Regions from separate parts of the Homo sapiens genome. Here region 1 is linked to region 2. The links are contacts of gene promoters, found by promoter capture Hi-C in blood cells and fetal thymus (Javierre and others, 2016). All regions are on one chromosome and are shown on one strand. Each heading gives the region's core, a stretch centred on a gene start or on the middle of the fragment in contact. The rest is flanking DNA. Distances are from core to core; before and after follow the strand shown. Region 1 holds the start of CCDC82 (coiled-coil domain containing 82). Region 2 holds the start of CEP295 (centrosomal protein 295).

What was found. Contacts are between HindIII fragments. The CHiCAGO score rates a contact against its expected background, and 5 or more counts as called.
Region 1: the fragment with the promoter of CCDC82 here is called in contact with the fragment with the promoter of CEP295 in region 2 in 3 of 17 cell types (total CD8 T cells, total B cells and fetal thymus); the score reaches 7.9 in total CD8 T cells.

Annotation. Positions count from the first base shown.
Region 1 is chr11:96,388,662-96,392,089 of GRCh38, reverse strand. It overlaps CCDC82 (coiled-coil domain containing 82), which reads left to right and starts at 2,178. Exons shown (of 10, transcript NM_024725.4): 1 at 2,178-2,246. It overlaps JRKL (JRK like), which reads right to left and starts at 2,077. Exons shown (of 2, transcript NM_001261833.2): 1 at 2,017-2,077; 2 at 1-1,607. The coding sequence starts at 1,440. RefSeq lists a silencer at 2,005-2,264. The HindIII fragment of the contact is 1,223 bases long and covers 1,398-2,620 here.
Region 2 is chr11:93,659,679-93,663,409 of GRCh38, reverse strand. It overlaps CEP295 (centrosomal protein 295), which reads right to left and starts at 1,728. Exons shown (of 30, transcript NM_033395.2): 1 at 1,636-1,728. RefSeq lists an enhancer at 1,605-1,734 and a silencer at 1,895-1,964. The HindIII fragment of the contact is 3,556 bases long and covers 1-3,010 here.

The DNA.
Region 1 (3,428 bases), core at 929-3,428, 2.7 Mb before region 2:
AGCTGCATGATTAATATGTTTCTCTGGAATTAGTTCTATTTCCTCCTCCTCATTTTCACTGGATTCATCTGCCTGGCCTTGTGCTCTTCTGATGATTTCGCTATCAGTTAACACTTCATAGCCTGGTTCAGTACTGTCTACTTCAAGCCATTTTTCAAGGTTCTCAGTAGTCACATTTTCCAATCCTTTGGTGTGTTGTAAAATGGCAGCCACAGTAGCCACAGAAATATCTTCAACATCAAAGTCCAGGCTCTCTTTCTCCTCTACCATAGGGAGAATCTTCTTCCATGCTCTGCTAATGGTAACTGGTTTTACTAAGTTCCATGCCATTGCTATTTCATAAAGTGCATCCAACAGAGTTAGCTTCTTCCAGAATGATTTCAGGTCATTACCTTCTTCCAAGTTGTTCTGGAGAAGACCTGCACGATAATTTCTCTTCATCGTTGCTATGACTCCCTGATCTGAAGGCTGAATCAATGAGGCCACATTAGGTGGTAAATATTTAGCAAATATTTGGCCATCATCTGACCTTAGGACATTTTCATTTGGATGTGTTGGTGAATTATCCAACAAGAGCACAGCCTTTTCCTGCAAGCCTTTAGATCTTAAATACTCTCGAACTTGCGGCACAAAAATTTTATCAAACCATTGTCGGAAAATGGAAAGATCCATCCATGCACCTTTTTGGCTGAAATAAGAGACTGGCAGGTTTAAGGTGTCAGTTGATTTAAAGGAGCGAGGTTTCTTTGCTTTCCCCACAACACAAAGTTTAAGTTTGTGTAAACCTGTTGCATTGGCACAACACATGATTGTGACTCTTTCTTCAATTGATTTGTGCCCAGGGACAGTGCATTTACCTTTGATTACTGAAATCCTAGAAGGCAAGCACTTCCAAAAGAGTCCAGTTTCATCTGCATTGTAGATTTGTTCAGGCTGTAAATTCTCTCGTTCAATAAAATCTCGAAAGTTATTACAAAAATCTTCCACCGCAGTCTCATCTCCATTTAATCTTTCATTTCTAATGTTAATCTCTCTAATGCTGTGCCGCTGCTTAAAACGAGTTAGCCAACCGGCAGAGGGGTTAAAATCACCATCCATTCCCAAAGCATAAAAGAAGAACTCTGCCCTTTTTGCACAAATTGGTCCAGATATGGGATTCCCTTTTGCTCTTTGCTGGTTGAACCATTCCAGCATTGCCCTGTCCAATTCCTCATACATGGATGGCTTCATAGATTTCCTCTTGGCCAAAAGACTTGTGGAATCAGAACTGCTTGCATAAGTTATAATCTTTTCCTTATTTTTTCTTATATCCCGAACTGTTGTTTCACCAATTCCATAAATCACTGCCAGTTGTTTGGAAGAACCTCCGTCTTCAAGTTTCTTTATTATATCAAGCTTATCTTTAATAGTCAACACCACACGCTTCCGTTTCCCTGACATAGCGAGGTTCTGGGACTCACCCCACACTCACAATGTAGCAATCCACAAAATCCTTCCTTCTCTTACACAGGCTCACTTCAACAGTCTTAACACACTCAGTCTTTCATCCTTACCAGCAACCTGGTGGCCCTGATCCCCTCCCGGGCTGGGGTTGGCTGGCAAATAGACTGCAGAAGAAGGTGAAAGAGGAGGAAGTTTGAGAGAACAGGCCTTTCTTTAACTTATACGGGCAGTAGCGGAGGCCCCATGTCACCGCGGATAATCCGGATTAAAAGCATGTGTTTTATTACCCCAGCAGCCGTGAGAAAGACTATACCCCCATTGTGGCCACGAACCTCCTGCACGTCCAGATCCCGGGTAACCGCGCGTCACTAACCCCTGCCACACCCCAAAGTTACGACAGAGAGCCGAAGAGCCTAGGAGTCAAGGACTGGCACCCTTCCTCAGGGGAACGGATATATTAGATTCCTTCCCCAGCAGCAGGGCCCTCCCGCCGCGCAGCCCCAGTTTCCCGCGCCAGCTTTAGCCGGGACAGTCCTCCCAGTCCCTCAAAACCCGCCAGGCCCCTCTCCCCACCTCTCTTGCAACCAGGACCCGCACAGCTCCCTGACTATCGCGCGGCAGTCGCTCCGCCCCTAGCCACGCTCCCGGAAGATGATCCCTCCCGCCGCCTGGCCCCACCCCTCGCCCCACCCAGAGGCGGGACTTCCCTTGGTCCCCGGAAGGGGGGGAGGAGCATCGCTTGTCCTGAGCTGGTTGCCGGGGCAGGGGCGGAGGCGGAGGCAGAGGTGGAGGCGCTTTGAAAGGTGAGAGCGCGAGGGCGGTGCGGGGCTGTCTCCCGGCTGGGACTCGCTCGCGCTCCCGGTGCTAATGGTTTATGAGAGGGGCGGGGGAAGCCGTGCCTCCTCGCGGACTAAGAGAAAAATTCCCGCGGGCGCTCTTTGGGTGGGCCGGAGAACGCCCCTCAGCCCTTTGCGCCTCTAACCCTCCTCAGCTGAGCTGCAGTGGGCGCGGTGCCCGTTATTTCCGCCTTGGGGAGGTGCTTGGAACTGATGTAGGGAGCTCGGTTGGTGATTTCTCGGGTTTCTGGCCTTTCCAGACCCTTGTAATTGTTTTCTCGGTGCAGAGCTCTTTTGGGGTCTGGGGGTTTCCGTCGTCCTGCGCGCGTCATCGCGAAGCTTGGCCTGAGGGTCCGGTTTCCTAGCTACTGTGCCCCTCCCTCCTGGAGGCAGAGTGACGGACTAGTGGGCTAGCGGGCGCTGGGTTCCTGCGTCCCGCCAAAGAGGTTTGTAATCATGAAAGTCACCCTTCCGGGTGTTAATTCCTGAGAGGATCTATTCCACTGTCTACCACTCATTCCTGCTGCATTAACCTTCATTGTTAACGGATTTTAATGAATAATATAGTTATCCCGGATACCATGCTGGCAGGATCCACTTTGCGAAATTGTGGACTGTTGGACTGTGATTCTAAGTGGGGGAAATAGGCTTTCCTCTCTTTATGTTTATTTTCTTATATCCTATTTCTGTCATGTTCTGTCTTGTTTTCCTGCCAATAGAAGAACTATGATAAATTTATTCATAGCAGTGTGATAAGAACTTGATCTTAATCATACACTGTAGCCCTCAAATCGTGTATTATGCTGGCTTGTTTTTGGTGTCCCTAGTAATTTCATCAGATTGTGAGCTCCTTGGGAGCAGAGACCATGTTTATTTGAAATGGTGGCAGCACAGTTCCTAGCAGGTGCTTGCATTTTGGTAGATATTCAATAATTATTTTTCGGCTTATTAATCTTTGCTCTCCAAACTGCCATATAAAAGAAAACATCGAAGAGGAGTGATGTTTTACACCCAAGAATGGATCCCTCCTGGTAGAATTTCAAATAATGACCTGGGGTTCCACTGCCTTTCAAATCTGTAAAGTGTTAACTACCACCTGCATTGTTTATACAGCAAGTAGGTGATTTCTAGAATGAATCTTTTCTTGAG
Region 2 (3,731 bases), core at 479-2,978:
GTAAACCTGCAAATATTTTATTAGGAGAAATGCGTGTGTGAGGGAAAATGGGAGGGAGCTGATAAAAGTTACAAGCGCCTCAGACTTCAGTGTAAGTCTAACACTGAATGGAGGGAAGTAACAATGGGTAGACCCCTCTTAGACAGCCATGCAGTATAAGAAATGTTCAGCAAGAACCCGTGGGGAGATTCTCAGGAACAGGCCTGCCACTGTCAGTGGCTAGGAGCAGCCCATGGGAAGCATGGCCTCAGTGCAAATGGAGATTTCAGAATGCAGGAGATTAAGATATGTGAGTTACATTCTCATGTCAAAGTTGTCATGTCCCCCTTAATCTGGGACAGTTTCTCAGTCTGTCTTTTCAAGACCCTGTCATTTTTGAAAATACTGGCCAAGTACTTTGTTGAATGTCCCTCCATTTAGATTTGTCTAATCTTATGTGATTAAACTGAGGTTATGTATTTTTGGCAAGAACACCACAGAATTGATTAGGCACCTTTTCAGTGCATTGTTATCAAGAGGTAAATGATGCTGAATTTTGGTCACTTGGTTAAGATGATGTCCACCAGGTTTCTCCTCTGTAGTTACTACTTTTCCTTTATAAATATCTCATGAAGACAGAGTAGAGGCTACAGAAATATGCTTTTCATCATACTTTTGCCCATTGACGTTAGTATCCATTGATGACTGTTGTCTGAAACAACTACTGTGGTGTTTACCAAATAGTATTTTCTATTTCCATTATTCCTTCTACAATTATCAATCGGAATCCTGCTGTAAGGAAGTTTTCCCTGCTGCCCCATTTACTTGTTTATTAATTATTTATTCTTAGTAATATGGATTTTTAAATTCTACATTTTATTACTATCCAATATTGAAGATTATACTACTTATCTTGCAAGATTTCGTCCTGAGGATTAAATGGCTCCTGGTACATAGTAATCACAAAATTAACACTAAACTTGGAAGATCTGGGTTCAAGACCCAACACTGCCACTTATTAGCAGGAAGATACTGGCCAAGTCACTGAAGTCACTTTGGTTTCGTTTTCTTAAACTGTATAAAGGGAATAATAATATCTACCCCAAAAGGTTTGTTCTGACGTCTATGTGACTTAGCGTGAAGTCTTCAAATACACTCTAAGTATTAAGGACTCAAAAGTTCACCATTGTTTTAAAAGTTGAGTTTGTGACAGGATTGAATAACTGTGAGATTAAGGTGGCAGACACCAAAAGAGAGCGTGCTCTTTGCATGAAACGATCCAGGCAAGGCTCTTTTAACAGCTACCAGGTGGCAGGCCATGTCCGCGGGTGATCTGGGGGAAGCGCCCCTCCCCCGACACGGAAGCTCCGCGACAGGGGAGGCTGCGTGGGAAGCTCGCGCGACCCGACCCCAGGAGAGCGCGCAAAGCCTCTCGCACTGAGTTACCGGGTCTGGTCCGGACACTCCTTACAGCCGCCAGCCCGACCGCGGGCAGGGCCCACGGCCTGCGGAGCCTGAGAAACGCGAGCCGTACCTGCGTTCGCAACAAGGCGCCTTCCTGGGATCCCATTCCTCCGGAATACAATCCCAGCTCTTGGGCCTCGGGGAGTCATGCTCCTACGGGGCGACTGGGAAGCCAGTGCATCCCTGACTCACCTGAGAACCCGGGGCCTGGACACAGTAACCGCAGCTCAGAGCAAGCCAGCCTGGTAAGCTCCTGCCCATCAGCTGCCCAGCAGCCGTTTCTGCGCCTGCGGGAGAGCCATCGCCGAGCCGCCGTCACTTCCGTCATTCAAACCGCCCGCCAATGGCCGGACCAAACCGCGGGAATAGGCCCTGTCCCGCCTTCCTCGGGGGCCGCCGGGAAGGCTGCGCGGTGTTAAAAACCCCGCGCCCCGCGCACGCGCACAGGCACGCGCCAGCCCCAGCCTGCCTAGGGGCCCATTATTTGTCACACCTGTCAGGCTTTGACGTTTTCCCGTATGGGCCGCGCTCGGTGGCTCGCGCCTGTAATCCCAGCACTTTGGGAGGCCAAGGCGGGAGGATCACTTGAGCCCAAGAGTTCGAGGTTATGTATTTTTGGTTATGAGTTCAAGACCAAGTCCTTTTAAAAACATGGTGAAACCTCATCTTTACAAAAAATACGACAACAGCAAAAATTAGCCGTGCGTGGTGGTGGGCGCCTGTAATCCCAGCTACTCGGGAGGCTGAGGCAGGAGAATCGCTTGAACCCAGGAGGTGGAGGTTGCAGTGAGCCGAGATCCCGCCAGTACTGCACTCCAGCCTGGGCGACAGAGCCAAAGCCTGTCTAAAAAAAAAAAAAAAAAGTGCAGAGCCATGAGGGTGACTTTTGTTTTAAGGCCCCATCATGAAGATATCTTGGGATATGCATCCTTTTCTGTACTGACTACGGAATTCATTGGTACTATTATGCGCAGTTAACGTCTTATAGCTTTCATTTAAGGCCTCCAGCTCATAACAACAATGAGCCGTATGTTACCCTGTGCCTCCAGAGGTACAGCGCACGGAGAGCACCTCACGGATTTATCTGCTGTAAATAACCAATAATCAGGCGGTGAGCACAGGTTAATACCTATTGAGTATCTGTTATGTGCCGAGTACATTATGTTACTCTGGATGGATTATGATGCCTATACTAGATTTTGCAGTCTGGGTCATGGGGGTTAAACATCAGGAATCAAAGGATTAAAAATGGGGGGTGGGGATGGGAAGTTGCTGACACGATCAGATCTGGCTGCACAGTGGGGAAAAGGTCAGAGAGAGTGAAGACAGAAGGCCGTATACTACTACAGAAAGTGAAAGATAATAGCAATGAGAATGGAGAGAGGTGAGTAGATTGAATAGGAAGCCAAACATCAGGAATTGGTGGTTACCTGGTTATGGGAGGCACAAGAGGAGAAAACAAGGGTGATGCCCAAGTCCCAGATACCTAGCACCTGGGTAGATAGTGATAACATCCTCCTGGAACACACATGAAGAGAACCAGGAGGGAGAAGTAATAAGTTAAGCTTTGAATATTTTGAATTTGAGCTGTTTATGAGATATCTAGACAAAGGGATGCATTTCAGAAACTTAGGACACAAAATTAGCAGTACTTGACAAACAATTGCATGTGAGATTGAGAGAAAAGGGAAAGTGAAGTTGATTTCATAGGCCACTAGCTTGGGTAGCAGTGTTGATTCTTGATTGTAAAGGGAGAAATCAGAAATGGCAGTTAAGTGGGTAGGGTGATGAGCCAAGCTCTGTGTATATTGAACTTCATGTGCCTGTAGAACATCCAGTGATGTACTGTAAGCAGATGAATACATCGGTAGATAGCCCACAGAAAGAACTAGGCTAAGCATAAAGGGATTTCCTTGTTACATGAGTAATAACAAACGCTAGCGGAATGGATGAGATCACTTAGGGAGAATTTGCAGAGTGAGAAGAGCAATGAGCAAAGAACCAAACTCCGAGGAACACCAAAACTTAAAGGGATGGAGTAGGAGGAAGGAAGGTACAGGAAGAAATAGTGTGATTCCACCTCAGATTTACAGATCAGGATACTGAGTTACAGAGAGATTCAGCAACTTGGCCAAGGGCACATTTCAGTCAAGGGTGAACCAGGACTAGAATTCACGTTTCCTTCCCAAATATTAGGGTTCTTCTCAGCCTCTCTCCCCATTTCCTGTCACATTTATCTTGAAGAATATTTGTATTCATTTTAAACATTTTTTCAGCATCCTCCATAC